5 separate regions of the Homo sapiens genome follow, and all the other regions are linked to region 4. Evidence: promoter capture Hi-C in 16 types of primary human blood cells and fetal thymus (Javierre and others, 2016). All regions are on one chromosome and are shown on one strand. Each heading gives the region's core, a stretch centred on a gene start or on the middle of the fragment in contact. The rest is flanking DNA. Distances are from core to core; before and after follow the strand shown.

Region 1 (5,329 bases), core at 1,381-3,880, 300 kb after region 4:
TTGATAAAGAACTTTCCCTTGACTCTTTGTTCACTTGCAGCTATACGTTCCCAGAATCAAATTCTTGGAACTGGAGAGGCCAGTGTGAGTACGGGTAAATGTGATGGGTATTTCTGGTAGAGAAAGAAAGGCCAAGAGCCCTGGCTTATGGAAGCCACTTCTCTTACCACCTTTTCTTTCTTTTTTTCTTTTTTTTTTTTTTTTTTTTTGAGATGGAGTCTTGCTCTGTCGCCAGGCTGGAGGAGTGCAGTGGCATGATCTCGGCTCACTGCAACCTTCAGCTCCCTGGTTCAAGTGATTATCCTGCCTCAGTCTCCTGTGTAGCTGGGATTACAGGCACGCGCCACCATGCCCAGCTAATTTTTGTATTTTTAGTAGAGACGGGGTATCACCATGTTGGCCAGGATGGTCTCGATCTCCTGACCTCGTGATCCACCCGCCTCGGCCTCCCAAAGTGCTGGGATTACAGGCATGAGCCACTGTGTCCAGCCTCTTACCACCTTTTCTTAACCAAGCTGCCTATTAAGTAAGGAAATTTTTCCTGTCCCCAGGGATCCTGGCCACCCAACCAAGAGTGGGGTGTTGCTGTGGGTGAGTCTGGGAGCCTCAGTTCCTCAACTCTACAACGGATGTCATAATACGAGTACCTTCTTCTCACATGAGTGCCCTTTCTTTCTTTCTTTCTTTCTTTTCTTTCTTTCTTTTTTTTTTTTTGACAGAGGGTCTGGCTCTGTCTCCCAGGCTGGAGTGGGAGTGCAGTGGCATGATCTCGACTCACGGCAACCTCCACCTCCCAGGCTGAAGCCATTCTCCTACCTCAGGCTCCCAAATAGCTGGGACTACAGACGCGCACCCGCACACCTGGCTAATTTTTTGTATTTTTTGTAGTGATGGGGTTTCACTGTGCTGCTGAGGCTAGTCTTGAACTCCTGAGCTCAAGCACCTCCCACCTCCGCCTCCCAAAGTGCTGGGATTACAGGTATACGCCGCCTCGCCCAGCCGTGTGTGCCAGTATTTCAACCATTCCTGAGACCAGGAAAGAGAAAAGGACGCAGTGACGACAACAAAAATTCCATGTAATAATACAACTACATCATAATAGTAGGATAAATAGCAGAATAAACCATTTTTATCTTCTACATCATGCACTTCTATATTATTTGAACTGCTTTTATAAAATTTTTAAAGGAATATGAAGAAATTTTAAAATATGTATAGAAAAAAGGCTGAACACTTAATAAACTAAAAGGTTAACAATAGCTATCTCGAGTTGATGGCTTTGAGCTGACTAGCTTTCATCTTTATACTTTTCCATGCTTCTCTATATCTTTGTTTAGTTATTTCAAAGATTGTATACTACTTTTGTAATTAAAAACTAATAATAATAAAATACTATGTTATTTAAGCTGGTGTGTATGCACCAAATTCCTGCTCCTCTCTGTGAAAGTGGAACAATCTATTTTCCAAGAAGTGGGCGTAAAAGGATACAAGTGGGTTGGGCGAGGTGGAGGACAGATGTGACTGTGGTCCCGGTCAGGGTGAGGCTGTGGAAAAATACCAGGGATGCCACACCCTGCACGTGGTTCTGGTGAAGTCCATTATTAAATCACTGCTCCATTGTTCCCCGCCCCGCTCCATGTGATATAATCCATTTCCTCTCACCTGCTGTTGTAAGTAAATCTAACTTTTCTGCCTTTCTTGTAATTTCCCTCCAAAGCTACTTCTATCACTCCACTATCTCTATGGATTCCCAAGGAGAACAGCTTCTTCTCCTGGGGCTGGGAATACAGCAAGGAAGGGGACAGGTGAGAGGATGAATCTATGGGTCCTTGATGCTCTAAGTTGGTGGTTCTTGATAACTTTTGAGAAGGGATTCAATAAATAGCAGACTCAGCCTGGCCAACATGGCAAAACCCCATCTCTACTAAAAATACAAAAATTAGCCAGGCATGGTAGCGCACACCTGTAGTCCCAGCTACTTGGGAGGCTGAAGCAGGAGGATTGCTTGAACCCGGGAGGTGGAGGTTACAGTGAGCCGAGATGGCTCCACTTTACTCCAGCCTGGGTGACAGACTCAGATGCTGTCTCAAAAAATATATAAATAAATAAATAAATAAATAAATAAATAAATAAATAACACACTTCCTCCCTACTCAGGCTCTAAATCAATTGAGGGGGGAAAAAAGTCAGAAGATGGATTATCTTCTGATGAAGGCTATAGGCTGTAGAATGTGGCTGAGTGTGTCCTTGTATCCTAATAAGACAGACTGTCCCATCAGTCACAAGCAGCGGTGGACCGGAGCACCCTCCCATGTGGAGGGAGAGAATTTGTGCTCCCTTCTTGATCCTCAGATACCAGGAAGAGGAAGACACGGCAACTCATGCCCAGTTTCTCCTGGGGCTGGGAATATGCTAATGCTCTCCTTTCCCTATGTGCAGGAGTAAGGGCTGAAGAGGAGGCTGGAGCGTTATAGTAGTTGATGGCCCTTCACACCAAAGGAAATATCTGGAGTAGGAGGAAGCATTTTCTTCTCCAAAAATTCTTTTTTTTTTTTTTTTTTTTTTTTTAAGAAAACAGCCTTGCTTTGTCACCCAGGCTGGAGTGCAGTGCAGTGGTGCAGTCTCAGCTTACTGTAACCTCCGCCTCCCATGTTCAAGCAATTCTCCTGCCTCAACCTTCCGAGTAGCTGGGATCACAGGCGCCCGCCACCATGCTCGGCTAATTTTTGTATTTTTAGAAGAGCCAGGGTTTCACCATGTTGGCCAGGCTGGTCGCGAACTCCTGACCTCAAATGATCCACCCGCCTCGGCCTCCCAAAGTGCTGGGATTACAGGCATGAGCCACCGTGCCTGGCCCCAAAAGTCTTACTATTTCTTGGATTATACAATAACTTTGAGGATGTGAAGCAAGCTATGAACCACCATCCAAGGAAAATGCACGTAGGTCTTGTCATGGACTTTTGTATCCCTTTCCCTGTCTTCTGGTTTCTGTAGCTCCAATTTTTCTTTTAGGAACTGTTCCTCTTCCATTCTGTGTGAAGTAGTGGTGCTGCCAATCAGTATGCTCCGCCTTCCCTTGGTGACAAGGGTTGGGCATGTGATCCACTCTGTCCAATCAGAGAAGCCTGTTCTCCTAGCCCTATTGTTTCAGGAATAGGCATGTGATTTAAAGCAGCCAATCAGGGAAAGACAACTCAGGGAGGCGTGACATACTTTCCTTAAGAATACTGACCAGTTTGGGCAGGGTGGCTCATGCCTGTAATCCCAGCACTTTGGGAGTCCCAGGCGGGCAGATCACGAGACCAGGAGTTTGAGACCAGCCTGGCCAACATGGTGAAACCTCATCTCTACTAAAAATACAAAGTTAGCCGGGTGTGGTGGCACACACCTGTAGCCCTAACTCGGGAGGCTGAGGCAGGAAAATTGGTTGTACCCGGGAGGCGGAGGTTACAGTGAGCAGAGATCATGCCACTGCACTCCAGCCTGGGCAATCAAGAGAGGCTTCATCTCAAAAAAAAAAAAACAAAAAAAAAAACAGGGCTGGGCACAGTGGCTCAAGCCTGTAATCCCAGCACTTTGGGAGGCCGAGGCAGGTGGATCACCTGAGTTCGGGAGTTCGAGACCAGCCTGACCAAAGTGGAGAAACCCCATCTCTACTAAAAATATAAAATTAGCTGGGCGTGGTGGCGCATGCCTGTAATCCCAGCTACTCAGGAGGCTGAGACAGGAGAATCACTTGAACCCGGGAGGTGGAGGTTGCCGTGAGCCGAGATCACACCATTGCACTCCAGCCTGGGCAACAAGAGCAAAAACTTTGTCTCAAAAAAAAAAAAAAAAACTAACCTGGAGAAAAAGTAAAGGTTAGACTCTCTGTAGATGTTTTTTTTTCTGCCAAGTAGAAAGAATCAGTCTGAAGAATGGAGCCCAACAAAGCAGAAATGTGTCTAATTAGTGAACACTTGAATCTAGTCATCAATGAAATCTGGTCTTCTGGTTACTTGAGCCACTAAATTCACCTTTGCTTTTGCCCAAGCTGCTGGAGGTAGGCTCCTGTTCTTTGGTATGTGCACACACAGAACTCGGCCTCCACTTTCCAGAAGTGCTAACTATGAGCCCAGACCTGCCTTGTATGTTAAGAGCCCCCTCTGTGAGCGGTGCCCATTATGAATTTGAAAAATGATCATCTATTCTAAAACATTCAAACACATCTTGCTGCTGCATTTGGGGCAGCAATACTTGCTTCTTCATGTTGGCACCGTTTCTGCCTGTCAGCAACTTGGAAACCATACTGAAAATACAGGCCGGAGGGCATGTAGCTTAAGAGAAAACAAGTCTCATGGGTGTGTTACAATGTAGGAAATGCTAGCGAAAGTGTCTACCAGAGGATAGAGAGGTTAAAGTTCGGCCACCCTCTTTTTCTTTATATATAATGGGTGAGAGTTGGAGGTGGGAAAGGGAGAAAGAGAATCCCACCCAAACCAAAGAGGATGTTTGGACAAGTTAATCTGCGGAAAGCTCTAGAAATTTGATGCAGGGTGATGAAAAAGCTGTGGCATGATAACATCTAGTGTTTGATTAAGCCTTTCCTCTAGGCTGGATGTCATACTTAGCACTTTACATACATTGTAGCAATTCTAGTGGGTACTATTGTTATTCCCATCTTACAGATGATGAAACTAACACTGAGAGGAGTTAGAAACTTGCCCAAGGGTCCTGCTGGTAGAGCCAGGATTTGACATCAGGGCATTCTGAACCCTATATTTGCTAACCACTATGCCCTTCCTTTCTAGCTAAAGACCTGGGTTTGAATCTAGCTCTGTTACTTGCTGGTTGAGTGACCTTGAGCAAATCAACCTCTTTGAGCCTGTTGCCTCATGTAGAAAATTCAGGGAGTAGGCCGGGCGTGGTGGCTCACACCTGTAATCCCAGCACTTGGGAGGCCGAGGCAGGCAGATCACAGGGTCAAGAGATCGAGACCATCCTGGCTAACCAACATGGTGAAACCCCATCTCTACTAAAAATACAAAAATTAGGTGGGCGCAGTGGTGCATGCCTGTAGTCCCAGCTACTCAGGAGGCTGAGGCAGGAGAATCACTTGAACCCGGGAGGCAGAGGTTGCAGTGAGCCAAGATCGAGCCACTGCACTCCAGCCCAGGCAACAGAGCAAGACTCTGTCTCAAAAAAAAAAAAAAAAAAGAAGAAGACAGAAAGAAAGAAGGAAGGAAGGAAGGAAGGGAAAATTCAGGGATTATACTAAATAATTTGTTTTCTCTCTTTCAACTCTAACATTTCAAAAATTATAATATCCCCAATCCCCCAAACTAGGATT
Region 2 (4,862 bases), core at 2,363-4,862, 280 kb after region 4:
TTTCCAAATCAGGTTCATGACCATCAGCTCAATTAAATGTTATCTTCTCACAGAGGCTTTCCCAGATCACTCTTATTAAATTAAATCTTTCCTGATTTTTCTTTCTCAACTCATTTGTTTTCTTCATAAAAGTGCCATAATTTAAAATTATTTCATCTGTCTGTTTTTGTTTTGACTCCTCTAGAATGGTAGCTTCAAGAAGGCAGTATCATGGGATATTTTCGTTTTGTTTGTTTGGAGACAGGGTCTCGCTGTCACCCAGGCTGGAGTGCAGTAGTGCTATCTCGGCTCACTGCAGCCTCGATGTCCTGGCCTCAAGCCCTTCTCCCACCCCTGCCTCCTGAGGAGCTGGGACTACAGGCTCATGCCACCATGCTCGTCTAATTTTCGTATTTTTTGTAGAGATGGGGTTTTGCCATGTTGCCTAGGCTGGTCTCAAACTCCTGAGCTCAAGTGATCTGTCCACCTTGGCTTCCCAAAGTGCTGGGATTACAGGCGTGAGCCACTGCACCCAGCTTTGTTTTGTTTTTAAGACAGAATCTCACTCTGTCGCCCAGGCTGGGGTTCCATGTTTATGTTTATTTTTATACACCACCAGGGCCTACTACTATATAGAACTTAACAAATATTTGTTGGGTTAATAAAATGTTATCCCATTTATGAGATGGTTCCTAAAGTAATATTCTCATTTATGGTGACAGTTTCTAAAAACACATATAGGCCGGTGCCGTGGCTCACACCTGTAATCCCAGCACTTTGGGAGGCCAAGGTGGGCAGATCACTTGAGGTCAGGAGTTCGAGACCAGCCTACCTAACATGGTGAAACCCCATCTCATAAAAACTAGCCAGGTGTGGTGGGAGGGACCTGTAGTGCCAGCTACTCCAGAGGCTGAGGCAGGAAAATCGCTTGAACCCAGGAGGCAGAGGTTGCAGTGAGCCAAGGTAATGCTACTGCACTCCAGCCTGGGCGACAAAACAAGACTCCATCTCAAAATAAATAAATAAATAAATACACATATAAAGCTTTAAAATAGGGCTGGGCATGGTGGCTCACACCTGTAATCCCAGCACTTTGGGAGGCCGAGGCGGGTGAATCACCGGAGGTCAGGAGTTCAAGCCCAGCCTGGCCAACATGGCAAAACCCCATCTCTACTAAAATAGAAAAATTAGCCGGGCATGGTGGCATTCACCTGTAATCCCAGCTACTCAGGAGGCTGAAGCAGGAGAATCACTTGAACCTGGGAGGCAGAGGTTGCAGTGAGCTGAGACCATGCCATTGCACTGCAGCCTGGGCGACAAGAGTGAAACTCTGTCTCAAAAAAAAAAAAAAAAAGTTTTAAAATATCACAATGTTATTTCAAGTTACTCTTTTGACAAATGACTATTTATACACAAGTCAATGGCTTCCAAATTTTCACTTGTAATACCCAGTAAGGAAATAATTTTACACTGCAATCCAATAAACACCATATACATGAGATATTATAGGCCAGGCACAGTGGCTCATGCCTGTAATCCCAACATTTTGGGAGGCCAAGGCGGAAGGATCACTTGAGCCCGGAGTTTGAGGCCAGCCTGGGCAACATGATGAAACCCCATCTCTACAAAAAAAATACCAAAAAAATTAGCAGGGTGTGGTAGTACATACCTGTAGTCCCAGCTACCTGGGAGGCTGAGGCGGAGGATTGTTTGAGCCCAGGAGGCAGAGGCTGCAGTGAGCCAAGATGGCACCACTGCACTCAAGCCTGGACAACAGAGCCAGACTGTCTCCAAAAAAAAGAAAAAAAAATACATTATATATAACTGAACAAAGTTTCACAAAATTTTACCCTTGATAAGAGAGATGCACTTTGATATTTTCTATCAATGTCATAAGATATTACAATCATTTTTATGTGATTTTTCTAAACTACTAAATGGTGGAAAGATAATGACATGTACTACTTTCATTCATGATTTCAACAACTCATGAATGCACTGATTCAAACAATGCAAAATTAATCTGCCAGGGAAAGACAATTCAATTATATTACTAATTCTAAACTACCACATTCAAACTCCAGTATCATACTCTAACCAGTCATTAATCAAAAAAATGGTAAGCTACAGACACAGGACACTTAAGATTAGGAACCTCTTGCTAAAGGAGGGGCCCCAAAGTGACATCAGATTGGAAAGAGAAGGATGAATACCAATGTAAATCTTCCCTCTCTCATCTAATAGCAACCCAACTCTTGAAGACTCATAAGCCAAAAACTTTGGTGTTATCCTTGACTCATTTTTCTTTCATTCCCCAAATCTGGCGCATCATTAAATCCTATTGGCTCTTCCATCACAACACATCCAAAATCTGACACTTGTTCTGGTACAACCCACTATCTCTTGCCTAATTACTAAAACAGCCTCCTAACTGGTCTCCTCAATTCTGCCCTTGTCCTCTTAAGAAGGCAAAGCCAGCTGGACTTCCTGGGTGGAGTGGGGACTTGGCAAACTTTTGTGTCTAGCTAGAGGATTGTAAATGCACCAATCAGTATGCTGTAAAAATGCACCAATCAGCACTCTGTGTCTAGCTAAAGGATTGTAAATGCACCAATCAGCACTCTGTAAAAATGGACCAATCGGCACTCTGTAAAATGGACCAATCAGCAGGATGTGGGCGGGGACAAATAAGGGAATAAAAGCTGGCCACCCCAGCCAGCAGCATCAACCTGCTCTGGTCCCTTTCCACACTGTGGAAACTTTGTTCTTTCACTCTTCACAATAAATCTTGCTGCTACTCACTCTTTGGGTCTGTGCCACCTTTAAGAGCTATAACACTCACCGCGAAGGTCTATGGCTTCATTCTTCAAGTCAGAGAGACCAAAAACCCACCGGAAGGAACCAACTCCAGACACACTCTTCCTTCAGTCTTTCACAACAATGTAGTCAGAACGATCCTATTACGCCATTAAGTCACATCATGTCACTCTTCTGCTCCAATGATTTCCCATCTCAGAATAAAAGCCAAAGTCCTTCCTAAAACCTGTGAAGTTGTACATGATTTGTCCTCCCCTGATCATTCTGATCTCATGTGCAACTATTCAACCACTGTGGCCTCCCTGACTGTTCCTCAAACATACCAGACATCCTCCCATCTCAAGGCCTTTGAACTTGTTTCCTCTGCCAGGAATGCTCTATGCTCTTCCTACAGATACCCTCATGGCTAGCTCCTTTACTTTGCTCCTGGCCTTTACTTAGTCATCTTCATAAAGTTATCTCGGCACCATCGCTAAAATTTCAAACCCTCCTCCTCACACCACATAAATATTCCACAGTCCTCTTCCCTGTATTATTTTTCTTTTTTTTTTCATTTGTGACGGAGTCTCACTCTATCACCAGACTGGAGTTCAGTGCCACAATCTTGGATCGCTGCAACCTCCAACTTCTGGGTTCAAGTGATTCTCCTGCCTCAGCCTCCCAAGTAGATGAGAGTACAGGCACATGCCACCATGCCCAGCTAATTTTTGTATTTTTAGTAGAGATGGGGTTTCACCATGTTGGCCAGGATGGTCTCAATCCCGACCTCATGATCCATCCGCCTCGGCCTCCCAAAGTGCTGGGATTACAGGCCTAAGCCACCGTGTCCAGCCCCCTGTATTATTTTTCTTCTTAGCACTTACCACTACCTAATGTAGTATATATTTTAGTTATTTACTCTGCTTATCGTCTGCCTCCTGTGCCATGTAATCTCCATGAGGGCATAGCTGTTTATTCACTACTAAATCCCCAGCACCTAGAACAGTGTCTAGAACATAGTAAAGGCTTAATAAATATTTGAATAAGTGAATGAATGAATAGGCTTGGAATGAACAAGAAAACAGAATAAATAAGAATAGCTAATTAGGCTGAGCACAGTGGCTCACACCTGTAATCTCAGCACTTTGGGAGGCCCAGGCAGGAGGATCCCTTGAGCCCAGGAGTTCCAGACCACACTGGGCAATAGTGGGACCCCAATTCTTTTTTTTTTTTTTTTTGAGACAGAGTCTGACTGTCGCCCAGGCTGGAGTGCAACGGCACCATCTTGGCTCACTGCAACCTCCACCTCCCGGGTTCAAGCGATTCTCCTGCCTCAGCCTCCTGAGTAGCTGGGATTACGGGTGTGTGCCACCACGCCCAGCTAATTTTTTTGTATTTTTAGTAGAGACGAGGTTTCACCATTTTGGTCAGGCTGGTCTGGAACTCCTTACCTCATGATCTGCCCACCTTCGCCTCGCAAAGTGCTGGGATTACAGGTATGAGCCCACACCCAGCCAGTGGGACCCCAATTCTACAAAAAATTTTAAAAATTAGCCAGGCGTCGTGGTGCACACCTTTTCCCAGCTATTCGGGAGGTTGAAATAGAAGGATCACTTGACCCCAGGAGACTGAGGCTGCAGTGAGCTGCACTCCAGCCTGGGTGAAAGTAAGACCTTGTCTCAAAAAACAAAACAAAAAAAACAAAACTGCAGGTAAAGAGCTGCAGCTCAAGCTCCAAGAGAAACCTTGGCACATTAGTGATGTCTCTGGCTATATCAGCATGTGGTTGAAACAGGTTAGTTACTTCTGGAATCTTCACAGAGGAAAAAAAAAAAGAAAGAAACAGGTTAGCAACTATTACTTGAGACTGAATTAATGCTCTCTGTAAGGGCTGAGTGTTCCCTCCAAGCTCACCATCTATTCTGAATCAATCAAGAAAAAAAATGGAGGGAAATAAAACCACAAATGAAAAACATGATTTTTTTTTTCTTTTTTTGAGATGGAGTCTCACTCTGTCACCCAGGCTGGAGTGCAGCAGCACCATCTCACCTCACTGCAGCCTCCACCTCCCAGGTTTAAGCGATTCT
Region 3 (4,892 bases), core at 853-3,352, 320 kb after region 4:
GGCCACAATGGGTGGATCACTTGAGGCCAGGAGTTCGAGACAGCGTGGCCAACATGGTGAAACCCCGTCTCTACTAAAAATACAAAAATTAGCCAGGCGTGGTGGCACACGCCTGTAATCCCAGCTACTCGGGAGGCTGAGGCAGGAGAATCACTTGAACCCGGGAGGCGGAGGTTGCAGTGAGCCAAGATCGTGCCACTGCACTCCAGCCTGGGCAACAGAACAAGACTCTGTCTCAGAAAAAAAAAAAAAAAGTTAGAATTGAAAGGCAAGTGATTTGGCACCAGGCATAGTAGCTCAACCCTGAAATCCCCAGCACTTTAGGAGACCAGGGTGGGAGGAGTGCTTGAGGCCAGGAGTTCGAGACCAGCCTGGGCAACACGGCAAGACCCCTAATTCTACGAAAAAAAATTTCAAATTACCCAGGCATGGTGGCACACGCTGGTAGTCTTAGCTACTTGGGAGGTTGAGGCAGGAGGATCACTTGAGCCCAGGAGTTCAAGGCTGCAGTGAGCACGATTGTGCCACTGCACTCCAACCTGCATTACAGAGTGAAACTTTCTCAAAAAAACTAAAATAAAGGCAAGTGATTTGGTTCCTGGTTAAGGCAAGCAGGCTGGAATGGAAAAGCAGCCATGGGCCGGGCGCAGTGGCTCACGCCTGTAATCCCAGCACTTTGGGAGACCGAGGCGGGCGGATCACGAGGTCAGGAGATGGAGACCATCCTGGCTAACACAGTGAAACCCCGTCTCTACTAAAAATACAAAAAATTAGCTGGGCATGGTAGTGGGCGCCTGTAGTCCCAGCCACTCGGGAGGCTGAGGCAGGAGAATGGCATGAACCCAGAGGCGGAGCTTGCAGTGAGCCGAGATCGTGCCACTGCACTCCAGCTTGGGCGACAGAACGAGATTCCATCTCAAGAAAAACAAAGAAAAAAAAGAAAAGCAGCTATGATCACCAAAGATCAGTCAGACCTAGAGGCCTCTTCTCTCATCCCGGAACGTGTACCTCATAGAACTTTTGGCTTTCCAGGATACTATACATATTAAGGTCCTGATATTAATTCACAGGTCCAGCATGGGATTCACATCCTCAAGGACATGGCCACCTGCACTTCTGAGTTGTCTTTGAGTGGCCCCAAACTGGATCTTTGCAGGTTCCAGACTAGTGGGGCTGGTAGGACAATCTTTGAAGCTAGACCAGTTACTGGGCCTCTCAGGAAGAGGCACCCACAACCACCATCCTGAACTAAGGTCTGAGCTGGAGGTTCTCCATTTGGTCAAGTGCCAGTTGGTGAATTCCAAGAGTATCAGAGATATCTGAAAGTGACTCAGACCCTCTATGGGACTATGGGTGGTCCTTTTGCTTATTTTTCTAATTGTTCTACAACAAAATGTGTTATTTTTGTGATTACAAAGAGTATATGTCTAGCGGCTGGGTTGCCAGGTGCATTCTATTTATTGGTATCACACTGGTCTTTGCTTTATAATTACAGTATTTGTTAAAATACAAATTTGTTTAAAGACTTTCCTCTGTGTATGCTCTCTTCCACAATTTTCAAAGTGTTTAATAAGGTGCACATATTTGGTTTTCTTTTTTTTCTTTTCTTTTTTTTGAGACGGAGTTTCGCTCTTGTTGCCCAGACTGGAGTGCAATGGCGCGATCTCGGCTCACCGCAACCTCCGCCTCGCGGGTTCAAGCGAGTCTCCTGCCTCAGCCTCCTGAGTAGCTAGGATTACAGGCATGCGCCACCACGTCTGGCTAATTTTGTATTTTTAGTAGAGATGGGGTTTCTCCATGTTGGTCAGGCTGGTCTCGAACTCCCGACCTCAGGTGATCCACCCGCCTCAGCCTCCCAAAGTGCTGGGATTACAGGCGTAGAGCCACCGATCCCGGCCTGTTTTTCAGTCTCTAATACACTGTTCCGCGTCCCTAGCATAGTAGCTGTTTTCTGTAAATTCGGAGCGAAGTTGACTGCAAAACCCGCCGGGTTCACCGGCCTGGGCGGTGTGGACTTCAAGCCCCAGGAGGCATTGCGGCCGGCACATCGGGAACTACGGCGTCTGAGAAGGGGGCCGGGCCCTCCGGTCCTTTCCCTCCCAGAAGCCCGCGGGCGGCTCGGAACGCTGTTTCTATCATGGCCGCGGGAGCCGGGACGGCGGGCCCCGCTTCCGGCCCGGGCGTCGTGCGTGACCCAGCGGCGTCACAGCCGAGGAAGCGGCCCGGCCGGGAGGGCGGGGAGGGCGCGCGGCGATCGGACACGATGGCGGGAGGAGGCGGGAGTAGCGACGGCAGCGGGCGGGCAGCTGGCAGGCGGGCGTCCCGCAGTAGCGGGCGGGCCCGGCGGGGGCGCCACGAGCCGGGGCTGGGGGGCCCGGCGGAGCGCGGCGCGGGGGAGGCACGGCTGGAAGAGGCAGTCAATCGCTGGGTGCTCAAGTTCTACTTCCACGAGGCGCTGCGGGCCTTTCGGGGTAGCCGGTACGGGGACTTCAGACAGATCCGGGACATCATGCAGGGTGAGGGCCGGGCCGGGGGAGGGGGGTTGGAGCGCCGGGGAAGGGGGTCCGGGGGACCGGGAGTCGGGACTGGGGGTCGCCCAGCCAACGATGTCTTCTCTCCCAGCTTTGCTTGTCAGGCCCTTGGGGAAGGAGCACACCGTGTCCCGATTGCTGCGGGTTATGCAGTGTCTGTCGCGGATTGAAGAAGGGGAAAATTTAGGTATGGCTATTTTTGTGTTCTTCTCTGGGCTTACTTGCGTAGGGTTTTGTTTTAAAACTTATATCTAGAACTGAAGGATTCCAGGTTAAAGTGCGATAGTTTCCATCAGAGTGGTCTTTTTCATTCTACGATGGGTCTGTTTTCTGGCTCGACTGGCTCTAGTTTTCTCCGGTTAAGGTTGTCTTGGCTGCTTTTCTGTGTTTTTTTTAAATCTTCTCCCACCTGTTAATTGCTCACCCCAACTTTGCTCCTGTCTAAAGTGAGTTATGTTCATATGGACATCTTTTTTCCCCCATGGTAGAGAGTTTTTCAGAGTGGAAGTACTCTGACATTTTTCCCCTCTGAATTTAACTTGAAAGCTATTTAGCTGTTGTCAGTTTCTTGCCACTCGTATCTGAGGAGGATGGGTATATTCTGAATTTGAGAGGCAAATGCAGGTATTTAAAAATAATTTTTTTGCCTGTCTTGACAGGTGTTAAAAAATGGTCACGTTAAATTCATTGATTTGAATTTGGACCCTTATCGTGTATGTCAACCTGTAGCAAATATGTCAAAAAATTAAATGCAAATCTTACCATATTTGCATGCTCCATTTCCATAAATATATATATATAATTTTTGGACATAACTTTTTTACCCTTAGAAAAGAGCTTAAAAATGAAAACTGTGCTTTGTCCTAGACTGTTCCTTTGATATGGAGGCTGAGCTCACACCACTGGAATCAGCTATCAATGTGCTGGAGATGATTAAAACGGAATTTACACTGACAGAAGCAGTGGTCGAATCCAGTAGAAAACTGGTCAAGGAAGCTGTAAGGCTCTATTTTTATATCTTTTTTCTTTGACCAAAAATCAAGGGTCTTTGAGGATACAGCACTTACTCTTTACTGTGTGGGGCAGAGGAAAACAGCAATGGGGAGAGATTGAGCAAGCAAGAAAGCACACACACAGACGTTATTTCTTCAGGTGTCTCCTTTCCCACCCAGGCTTGGGAAGTAATGGCAGTTGCTCAGTTTTTGTGATTTGGGTGGTCTTCCTTGTGGCTTTGGCATTGAAGCTCTGACATTTTGGAGGTTACTGCACCATTCGGGAGCACTCTACAAGGGCCTTAAGTAACTCTGGCCTAGGGTTTGGTCACCCTTGTTTATAATAAACCAAGGAGATAAACTGGGGCCTTGGAAAATGTGGTACTGACTTTGAGTTCTTTCTGTCTGCAGAAAGAGGGGCTTAGAGAATATCCCTTTTGAACAGATAGATTAGAATCAGAGGTGCTGGGATAATGAGCCAGCTAGCAAAATAGTAATGGTAGAAGAATGATAGAAATCCGGCACAGGCAGTGTTCTTGAATTCAAGAAAAAAGCTAATGGAGTGTCTAGGAATTTGGGATTGTCACTGTGTTGTGGCTCAGGTAGCTTCAAACAGTAGAAATTATTTTAATTTAAAACATAGAAGTGGCTGTGGGAACCAGTTAGAAAAAGATTTTTCTTCCCCCAAAACCAAGGCTGGGGGGTGTGGAAGCAGATGCAGAGGTGAAGATGGAAAACATCAGCTAAGCATTGCCCTGGTGGTAGAAAATAGGGAAATGGTTAAGAAAAGAGCACCCCTAAAAGGATGGGATCCCAAAGATGGGGGTGGGGTAGAAAGAAAAACCTTGCTTCACAAGGAAAACCTGTCTCTTGGCTGTGTACATTGTACTTGGGTACCCTATTAAAAAACAACTAGTGTGCATGAGGTGCACATATTTTATTTATTTAATTAAGGACCTTGGGCAGATACTACTTTTGGTCTGGTAAAGAAATGCTTAAATATTAGTCATTTCCAAGGAAGAATAATTTCAAGAGTACATTTTTAGTATAGGAAAATCAGGTTTAGGTTGAGGGGAGGCATATGCCAGAATAGACATTATCAAGGGAGGAGAAATTCATGCCTACTTTCAGAACTGTTAAGGATCTTTTGAATGGGTACCAGTTTAGAATAATTCATTTAACTTCTATTAAGTACACATTGAGTATCCCTTATCCAAAATACTTGGGAACAGAAGCATTTTGGATTTCAGATTTTGGAATATTTGCATTAAATTTAGTTTGAGCATCCCAAATCCAAAAATCTGAAATCCCAAATGCCCTCAAATCTGAAACTTTTTGAGTGCCAACATGGCACTCAAAGGAAATGCTC
Region 4 (4,802 bases), core at 1,099-3,598:
CCTGTGGTCCCAGCTACTTGGGAGTCTAAAGTGAGAGACCCAGGAGTTCGAGGCTGCAATGAGCTATGATCACACCACTGCATGCCAGCCTGGGATACAGGGCGAGACCCTGTTTCGAAGAAAAAGGAAATAATTTAGTCCAGCCAGTTTATACATGGATAAAACTGAAGCCTGGGGTGGGCTTATTGGTGTTACCAAACCCTCAAGATAATTTCTATAAAGAGGGAGGTTGGAGAGAAGAGCCAGTGAGTGGCCACTTATGAAAATCATTTATCAAGACTCATCTGGGCCTGTAATCCCAGCACTTTGGGAGACTGAGGCAGGCGGATCACTTGAGGTCAGGAGTTCGAGACCAGCCTGGTCAACACAGTGAAACCCTGTCTCTACTAAAGATACAAAAATTATCTGGGCATGGTGGCGCATGCCTGTAATCCCAGCTACTCGGGAGGCTGAGGCAGGAGAACCGCTTGAACCCAGGAAGTGGAAGCCGCAATGAGCCGAGATCGTGCCATGGCACTCCAGCCTGGACGACCGAGCGAGACTCTGCCTCAAAAAAAAAAAAAAAAAGAAAAAGAAAAAAAGGACTCATCTAGTTATATGGAGAGGCAGAGAAATGCACCCACGCAGGTCTTGGTGAGTCACCTGCCAAGAAACTGAGACTCCCTAAAGTAACAGAACTTCCAGCCTTCTTGGCAAAGGATCCAGGTTGGCACAGTTTCAAGGTTTATGCATTTAAAGAAGAACACACCTGAGAAGGCTAAAATTGGTAACGGCTAGGTAGAGGGTAAGAGAGAGACGCTAGCTCTGAACTGATTCTCTAGTGTGCCTGAGGCCTCCTTATCAGAGTGTCTTACTGAGAAGCCCAGACCAACTTCTGTTGTTTATAGTACAACTGCATGGAATTGGTTGACTTACCTCTCTGTGCTTTCTGTATCCTCAGAGTGGCATTCTGCATTTCTGTGGCTTCCAAGTCTTAGAACCTCAACTGACATATAGCATTGGGCACACTCCAGCAGACGCCCGAATTCAAATCCTGGAAGGATGGAAGAAACGCCTGGAGAATATTTGGGATGAGACACCACTGTATTTTGCTCCAAGCAGCCTCTTTGACCTAAACTTCCAGGCAGGATTCTTAATGAAAAAAGAGGTACAGGATGAGGAGAAAAACAAGAAATTTGGCCTTTCTGTGGGCCATCACTTGGGCAAGTCCATCCCAACTGACAACCAGATCAAAGCTAGAAAATGAGATTCCTTAGCCTGGATTTCCTTCTAACATGTTATCAAATCTGGGTATCTTTCCAGGCTTCCCTGACTTGCTTTAGTTTTTAAGATTTGTGTTTTTCTTTTTCCACAAGGAATAAATGAGAGGGAATCGACTGTATTCGTGCATTTTTGGATCATTTTTAACTGATTCTTATGATTACTATCATGGCATATAACCAAAATCCGACTGGGCTCAAGAGGCCACTTAGGGAAAGATGTAGAAAGATGCTAGAAAAATGTTCTTTAAAGGCATCTACACAATTTAATTCCTCTTTTTAGGGCTAAAGTTTTAGGGTACAGTTTGGCTAGGTATCATTCAACTCTCCAATGTTCTATTAATCACCTCTCTGTAGTTTATGGCAGAAGGGAATTGCTCAGAGAAGGAAAAGACTGAATCTACCTGCCCTAAGGGACTTAACTTGTTTGGTAGTTAGCCATCTAATGCTTGTTTATGATATTTCTTGCTTTCAATTACAAAGCAGTTACTAATATGCCTAGCACAAGTACCACTCTTGGTCAGCTTTTGTTGTTTATATACAGTACACAGATACCTTGAAAGGAAGAGCTAATAAATCTCTTCTTTGCTGCAGTCATCTACTTTTTTTTTAATTAAAAAAAATTTTTTTTTGAAGCAGTCTTGCTCTGTTACCCAGGCTGGAGTGCAGTGGTGTGATCTCGGCTCACTGCAACCTCTGCCTCCCAGGTTCCAGCAATTCTCCTGCCTCAGCCTCCCTAGTAGCTGGGATGACAGGCGCCTGCCATCATGCCTGACTAATTTTTGTATTTTTAGTAGAGACGGCGTTTCACCATGTTGGCCAGGCTGGTCTCAAACTCCTGACCTCAGGTGATCCGCCTACCTCAGCCTCCCAAAGTGCTGGGATTACAGGCGTGATCCACCACACCTGGCCCTTGCAATCTTCTACTTTAAGGTTTGCAGAGATAAACCAATAAATCCACACCGTACATCTGCAATATGAATTCAAGAAAGGAAATAGTACCTTCAATACTTAAAAATAGTCTTCCACAAAAAATACTTTATTTCTGATCTATACAAATTTTCAGAAGGTTATTTTCTTTATCATTGCTAAACTGATGACTTACTATGGGATGGGGTCCAGTCCCATGACCTTGGGGTACAATTGTAAACCTAGAGTTTTATCAACTTTGGTGAACAGTTTTGGCATAATAGTCAATTTCTACTTCTGGAAGTCATCTCATTCCACTGTTGGTATTATATAATTCAAGGAGAATATGATAAAACACTGCCCTCTTGTGGTGCATTGAAAGAAGAGATGAGAAATGATGAAAAGGTTGCCTGAAAAATGGGAGACAGCCTCTTACTTGCCAAGAAAATGAAGGGATTGGACCGAGCTGGAAAACCTCCTTTACCAGATGCTGACTGGCACTGGTGGTTTTTGCTCTCGACAGTATCCACAATAGCTGACGGCTGGGTGTTTCAGTTTGAAAATATTTTGTTGCCTTCATCTTCACTGCAATTTTGTGTAAATTTCTCAAAGATCTGAATTAAATAAATAAAATTCATTTCTACAGACCCACACTCATTGGTATCAGTGAAGCTAATGATAGTGGAATCTAGTGGGAGGCAGATCAGAGGATTCAATCACAAACTGCAGCTGGAAGCCCCTTGGTGACTGGCTTGACAACTCACCCAGCAGGGCTGCTTCCTACTAAATGGTAATAGAACAACCTATTCAGTCCTCTCAGGGAATTCAAAGGAAAGAGAGTGGTATAGAAATCAAGAAAAACAGGCTGCGTGCAATGGCTCACGCCTGTAGTAATCCCAGCATTTTGGGAGGCAAAGGCGGGTGGATCACCTGAGGTCAGGAAACCCAGTCTCTACTAAAAACTTAAAAAATTAGCTGGGCGTGGTGGTGCGGGCCTGTAATCCCAGCTACTCAGGAGGCTGAGGCAGGAGAATTGCTTGAACCCGGGAGGCGGAGGTTTCAGTGAGCCAAGATCGTGCCACTGCACTCCAGCCTGGGTGATAAGAGCGAGACTCTGTCTCCAAAAAAATAAGAGACATCTATTAAGACTGCCAGGTGAGGCTGACAAGTAGGCAGTTGGATAGGAGAAACCTGGAGTTAAGGCAGAAGTTATGGCTGGAGATGCACATTTGGGAATCTTCAACATATAGATGGTGTTTAAAGCAATGAGATTGGCTGGGATCAATCTCTTTGAGTTTTGAGAGAAGAGATTTGATGATTTACCTCTGGGGCTCGACAATGTTAGGAGATGAAGATGAGAGTGAAAAGCAGTGGTCAGATCCTTTTGTAGTTCCTAAGTGTGTTGATTGGGTGTTCACGTGCATGTGTGAGATGTGGCACCCTTGAATCTTGTTATGACATCAGTACATTTCCCGTCTGACATGAAAAAAAAAAACAAAACTGGTGTTCAGAGATGCAGGAGAGCTGAGTGTGGTGTCCCGAAAGCCAAGCGAAGAAAGTGTTTGAAGATGGCCGGGCGCAGTGGCTAACACCTGTAATCCCAGCATTTTGGGAGGCTGAAGAGGGTGGATCACCTGAGGTCAGGAGCTCGAGATCAGCCTGGCTAACATGGTGAAACCCTGTTTCTACTAAAAATACAAAAAATTAGCTGGGCATGGTGGTGCGTGCTTGTAATCCCAGCTACTAGAGAGGTTGAAGCAGGAGAATTGCTTGAACCCAAGAGGTGGAGGTTGCAGTGAGCTGAGATCACACCATTGCACTACAGCTTGGGCAACAAGAGTGAAACTCTGTCTTGAAGGAAAAAAAAAGTGTTTGAAGGAGGGAATGATCAGGTGTGTCAAATACTGCTGACAAGCCAAGCAAGACGAGGCCTGGGAAGTGACCACTGGACTTGGTCATGTGGAACCCATTTGTTGGTGACATTGACAAGCACCATTTCAGTAGAGTGGCGTGATGAAAGCCTGATTTGAATGGGTTTGAGAATGGAAGGAGAGGAATAGAAATAGTGTGGAGGAGGCTGTGTGATCAAAGAACAATTTTTTTTAAGAGATCAGGGACATTACAACAAATTTCTATGTCAATGGAAATGACTCAGAGAAAGGAAAAGTTTTGATGCTGATGACAAAGGGACATCTTTGAAAAAGCCAAAATGCTATATTTGTATATTTATCCCCTCCAAAACTCAAGTTGAAATTTCATCCCCACTGTGGCAGAATTGAGAGGTGGGGACTTTTAAGAGGTGACTGAGGGCCAGCATGGTGGCTCACACCTGTAATCCTACCTAGCACTTTGGGAGGTAAGGCAGACAGATCACTGGAGCCCTGGACTTCAAGACCCAGCCTGGGCAACATGGTGAAACTCTATCTCTACAAAAAATGCAAAACTTAGCCAGGTGTAGTGGGGGGTATACCTGTAGTCCCAGCTACTCGGGGTAGGGACTGAGATGGGAGGATTGCTTAAGCCCAGAAGAGGCTGCAGTGAGCTGTGATTGTGCCACTGCACTCCAACCTGGGTGACGGAGTGAAACCATCTCAAAAAAAAAAAAAAAAAAATCATGAGGGAGGGCTCTGTCCT
Region 5 (5,032 bases), core at 259-2,758, 340 kb after region 4:
GGTAACTGGAAACTATCCTTATCTATATAACACAAAGAGCCCTGATTAGCCTACTCAGGGCTCTTTGTGTTATATAGATAAGGATTCTCAAACAGTTGTTAATAAGGCAAAACATTTGTAGAAACAGTTATAAAAATTCTATACACAAACTGGAAGATATTAGTATGAACATTTATTGCCGGGCATGGTGGCTCATGCCTGTAATCCCAGCACTATGGGAGGCTGATGCGGGCAGATCACTTGAGGTCAGGAGTTCGAGGCCAGCCTGGCCAACATGGTGAAACCCCGTCTCTACTAAAATACAAAAATTAACTGGACATGGTGGTGGGCGCCTGTAATCCCAGCTACTTGGGAGGCCGAGATGGGAGAATTGCTTGAACCCAGGAGGTGGAGATTGCAGTGAGCCGAGATTGCACCACTGTGCTGCAGCCTGGGCGACAGAGCAAGACTCCCTCTCAAAAAAAATGTATTAGTTATCTTAAGTTTGAATAAAAAAAGCTTGATTTATAAGTCTTACAAGTTCTCTCCCATTTTATGTCCTTCGTTTTATGCCTAGATTGGATTTGTAAGTGAACTTGTTTGCATATTGAGTATATTCTTGGTGAAAGAAGCAGAGAATTAATGCAATTCTGTGGCCTCTTCTTCCTGATGACATCCTTCCTTTCCCAGATGGCCAAAAAGGCTTTGAAATCTGAGTCCGCTGCCTCAAGTACAGGGAAGGAAGATAAACAGCCAGCACCAGGGCCTGTGGAAAAGCCACCCAGAGAACCCGCAAGGTAAAAAGATGCTCTCTTGTGATCTTGGGTAAAACACTAGGGTGGTCGCTGGAAGCAGTCTCCTCCTTAGGCCAGGATCAGTTCCTCTCAGCACTCCGACCTACTAACGTGTTACGAGGTTACTCATACAAGGCACTGGGGGAGACTGCACACCCTGGGAAGATAAGGAAACAGGATGCCTGGGGTCCCTGACAACTTCCTGACTGGCCATTCCTCAAAGGCTCTTTCACCATTTCTCTCTCCTTGCCTCCCCCGTATTGACTCAGTACTTTTCTTGTGGACACCTAATCTCTTAATACATTCAGGAAGCACTGCTCAGATCTGTGAGTCGAATCCCAAAACCAGTTCCTAAAGCAGGGGTCACAAGCTTAGATGCCCTTTGAGGGCCGGTTAGGAAACCTAAAGGAACAAAGTGGACCTAGGCTGAGAGCATGGGGCTGGGAACCAGGGGATGTGCTTTTCAGCTTCTTGTGGTTGTTGCTCTGTGGGAGTATCCAAGGATGCTCAGGCTTCAGGTGCTCAGATTTTTGTATGAGATGTCCAGGGTTTTCCATGAGATTTCCCAGTTTTTGGATGTTAACAGTTGATCCACTTAAAAAATTTTTTTTCATGTTGGTTAGACAACAAGACAGGCTGCCAGATGGATTTGGCCTGCAGGCTGCCAGTTTGCCCCCTCTCCTAACAGTTTTTCCCTAAAGCATACTAACTGTTCCAAATGATAGATGAACTTTATTTTTAAAAGGCAGTTTCTCATTGTTCCAAGACTGTGTGGCATGCCTTTTACTCTGAGAATTCTCAAGATCCTGCTCTTAAGTGTGTTGTAGGCCGGGTGTGGTGGATCACGCCTGTAATCCCAGCACTTTGGGAGGCCGAGGTGGGTGGATCGCTTGAGCCCAGGAGTTCTAGGATACAGTGAGCTGTGTTTGTGCCACTGTATCCTATCTCTCTGTCCTATCTACTGTCTAGGACAGACCCAGACCCTATCTCTAAAAATAAAATGAGAAGTAAAATAAAGGTTCTCTAACTTGGAGTTTTAAATTCATAATACAACTTACATATCACATTTAAAGCCTCCTCAACTGGAATTTGAAGCTTCAAACTTCAAAAAAGTTGTGGCTGTTTGGATGAGCATCATCAGTGGTGAAAAACATCTTTGTGCCTATGCTTGATTTGCAGGCAGCTACGGAATCCTCCAACCACCATTGGAATGATGACTCTGAAAGCAGCTTTCAAGACTCTGTCTGGTGCACAGGATTCTGAGGCAGCCTTTGCAAAACTGGACCAGAAGGATCTGGTTCTTCCTACTCAAGCTCTCCCAGCATCACCAGCCCTCAAAAACAAGAGACCCAGAAAAGATGAAAACGAAAGTTCAGCCCCGGCTGACGGTGAGGGTGGCTCGGAACTGCAGCCCAAGAACAAGCGCATGACAATAAGCAGATTGGTCTTGGAGGAGGACAGCCAGAGTACTGAGCCCAGCGCAGGCCTCAACTCCTCCCAGGAGGCCGCTTCAGCGCCACCATCCAAGCCCACCGTTCTCAACCAACCCCTCCCTGGAGAGAAGAATCCCAAGTATGAAGACCTTCTTTGTAGAAATTTTGGGGCTGGTTGGTGGTCCTGGTTGGGCCTGGTATTACTTCCGTGAATGAAGTAACTTTCAGCTAAGTTACTCACCACCAAGGCTTGCTCAGACTGCTAGAACTTGACGCAGGAGTGGCCAGTGACGACGTAGCCATCCCTGCCGGTTCTGAAGCCCCGCATGTGGGCTTCCAAGCCTTGCACTAGGGCATGAGTGGGAATGGAAAGGTTTCAGAGCCTCCTACTCATCGCTGCTTTCATTTTTAGCAAACATCTGAGTGTCTTGACTTCTAAACATTAGTCTTGTGTGTTAAAAGAAATTTGTTTGCATTGGGCCACATTATACTTTGACCCTTAAAAAGAGACTGATGAATATGTATAATTTTGCACCCTTCTGAGCATTTGAGACTTGGCAAGTTCAGTGAATACTTACTAATCTCCCATGTCCTGCTAGGTACTGTGGGGCAGTGGCTAGAATACTTTAATTTTGCTCCCCATTGTGATTCTCATCCTGGCTTTGAGTTTTGCTTCCCTTTGTGTCCTGTGGTGGATCCTCCCTCCAGGCAGACTGGCCTGCTTGCTCTCTGGAACATGTTGTTTGTTTCTACCACTGTACTTTTGCTTCCTCTCATTCCCCACAGTGGACCGTCATCCCTTCATCATTGCTTGTCCAAATCCCATTTGTCCTTTAAAGGGAAGAAAAGCCGTTGTTGATGAAGTGCTTTCTGGGGGCAGAGCACTTTCATGTATCATCTTACTGAGTCACTACAATCCTCACTCTGTGAGGTGATGATATATTAGCCCCATTACACAGAGGAGAAGGGCTCAGAAAAGTTCTTAGCTCACCTGAAGTCACACAGCTAAAAGTGGCAAAGATGGGCTTTGGATTTTTAATCCAAGTCAGTCTTGACAGAAAAGCCCATGGCCTGTATACCATATACAACAAGTTGCCTCTCTTACAATTCTCCTTCCTCAGGCTGGGTGCGCTGGCTCACACCTGTAATCCCAGCACTTTGGGAGGCTGAGGCAGGCAGATTACCTGAGGTCAGGAGTTTGAGAGCAGCCTGGCCAACATGGTGAAACTCCGTCTCTACTAAAAATACAAAAATTCGCCAGGCGTGGTGGTGGGCGCCTGTAGTCCCAGCTACTTGGGAAGCTGAGGCAGGAGAATTACTGGAACCCGGGAGGCGGAGGCTGCACAGTGAGCCAAGATTGCACCACTGCACTCCAGGCTGGGCAACAGAGTGTGACTCCGTCTCAAAAAAACAAAAACAAAAACAACTTCTCCCTCCTCCACAGACTCCTCCCTGGTCACCACTAGTGATCCACCTTATGGATCTCCCAAGGCCACCTCTGCCTCTGCTCTGTGTTGTATTATTTGGGGACCTGTGGTCTGGCATGCATTGTACTTGGTGCCCCAAAGGGCTGTGGCATCTGATAAGTGATTTATCCTCAGGCACAGATTTGCACTATGTCACCACTACTTGTATGTAGAAGTGAGTCACCGGCTGGCAAATGGGCATAGCTGCTGGGCAGTGGATGCAGCTCCATGCATGTTATTCTCATTTGATACAGGATCTCATTGGCTTCTCACAGCAATCCTGTGCACTATAGGTATTGCTCCCGGGAACAGATGAGGAAACAGGAGAGTGCGAGATTACAGTAATTTTGTAAATGGGAGGATTTGTGAAGGTTTCAGACATACACCCTCTCTCATATGTCAAGGATATGAAGTCTAATGAATCCCCTAAAGCAGCAGGGGTTGGCAAGCTGTGGCCCTGGGGCCAAATCAGCCTACTGCCTGTTTTTGTAAATAAAGTTTTATTGGAACACAGTCACACCCATCATCAATGTATTATCTAGGGCTGCTTTCTGTTCATTGGTAGTTTGTTGAGTAGCCACAGCAGAGACAGGCTTGCAAAGTGAAAATACTATCTGGCCCTTTACAGAAAAAAAGGGTCAGTGTCCCTGCTCTAAAGAAGTATGTGTGAGGTGCCCTGGCCACTTATGGGAAGAAAAGCTGAGCCTATTCAGCAAGGTTTTAGGTGGCTCAGATTTTATAGAGGAACAAACATTGAGCTGGCCTGGGAAGGATGAGCAGAAGGTCGTCGAGTGTGTTGGGGGCTGGGGGACTCTACGCAGTGGGAGCTCCTTACATACAGGCATGAGAAAGCCTGGTGTGCCCCTCAGAGTGTCATGGAGCCTATGGTAGGAGAATACGGTGCATAGGAAAGAGTGAAGGTAGGAGAGTCTGCATGCTAGATGGGCCAGGCCTGGGATTTCTGTAGTCTAGTGTGTCAGGCAGAGGCTCTCAAGCTGGGCTTCATGACACAATGACCTGTGGAATGCTCAAAAAATACATATTCCCAGGCTCCTGGCTACTGAATTAGAAGAGTCAGGAGAATGCCCTTTAATCTGCTTTTTAAACCATGCCCCAGATAATTCTAATACAACAAATTGGAAGGCCTGATGAGACCCCACTCAGGGAAGGGAGGGAGGGAGGCTGGAGACTGGAGACCGCTGCCAGGGAGCAGGGAGGGGCAGTGGGATCAGGAGGGAAGGCAGGGTTGGCAGTGTCACTTGGACAGGGCCACCATGCCCCAATCTTGTATCTCCCACGGCACCTTGCACATAGCATGTGTTTACTAGGTATTTATTCACCAAGTAAAATAAGGATTCTT

Evidence for each region. Contacts are between HindIII fragments. The CHiCAGO score rates a contact against its expected background, and 5 or more counts as called.
Region 1: a contact is called between a fragment that was not itself captured here and the fragment with the promoter of NQO1-AS1 in region 4, in 2 of 17 cell types (activated CD4 T cells and endothelial precursors). The highest score is 8.3, in activated CD4 T cells.
Region 2: a contact is called between a fragment that was not itself captured here and the fragment with the promoter of NQO1-AS1 in region 4, in 1 of 17 cell types (monocytes). The highest score is 5.3, in monocytes.
Region 3: the fragment with the promoter of TERF2 here is called in contact with the fragment with the promoter of NQO1-AS1 in region 4 in 6 of 17 cell types (endothelial precursors, megakaryocytes, activated CD4 T cells and 3 more); the score reaches 10.6 in endothelial precursors.
Region 5: a fragment that was not itself captured here is called in contact with the fragment with the promoter of NQO1-AS1 in region 4 in 5 of 17 cell types (activated CD4 T cells, megakaryocytes, erythroblasts and 2 more); the score reaches 7.2 in activated CD4 T cells.

The regions. Positions count from the first base shown.
Region 1 is chr16:69,404,913-69,410,241 of GRCh38, reverse strand. No RefSeq gene overlaps it. Among named protein-coding and RNA genes, the nearest start is that of CYB5B, 17 kb to the left of the region's middle. The HindIII fragment of the contact is 5,546 bases long and covers 1-5,329 here.
Region 2 is chr16:69,427,145-69,432,006 of GRCh38, reverse strand. The region is part of intron 1 of CYB5B (cytochrome b5 type B); the gene reads right to left. Among named protein-coding and RNA genes, the nearest start is that of CYB5B, 5.0 kb to the right of the region's middle. The HindIII fragment of the contact is 5,174 bases long and covers 1,026-4,862 here.
Region 3 is chr16:69,383,217-69,388,108 of GRCh38, reverse strand. It overlaps TERF2 (telomeric repeat binding factor 2), which reads left to right and starts at 2,102. Exons shown (of 10, transcript NM_005652.5): 1 at 2,102-2,516; 2 at 2,623-2,718; 3 at 3,399-3,529. The coding sequence starts at 2,138. RefSeq lists a silencer at 2,107-2,486. The HindIII fragment of the contact is 13,848 bases long and covers 1-4,892 here.
Region 4 is chr16:69,707,420-69,712,221 of GRCh38, reverse strand. NQO1-AS1 (NQO1 antisense RNA 1) reads right to left here and starts at 2,348. Exons shown (of 2, transcript NR_198990.1): 1 at 2,121-2,348; 2 at 1,639-1,985. NQO1 (NAD(P)H quinone dehydrogenase 1) reads left to right here. Exons shown (of 6, transcript NM_000903.3): 6 at 941-2,821. The coding sequence ends at 1,246. SNORD13H (small nucleolar RNA, C/D box 13H) reads left to right here and starts at 3,547; the gene lies at 3,547-3,650. The HindIII fragment of the contact is 13,005 bases long and covers 1-4,802 here.
Region 5 is chr16:69,364,120-69,369,151 of GRCh38, reverse strand. TERF2 (telomeric repeat binding factor 2) reads left to right here. Exons shown (of 10, transcript NM_005652.5): 6 at 670-776; 7 at 1,953-2,345. Among named protein-coding and RNA genes, the nearest start is that of TMED6, 15 kb to the right of the region's middle. The HindIII fragment of the contact is 725 bases long and covers 1,146-1,870 here.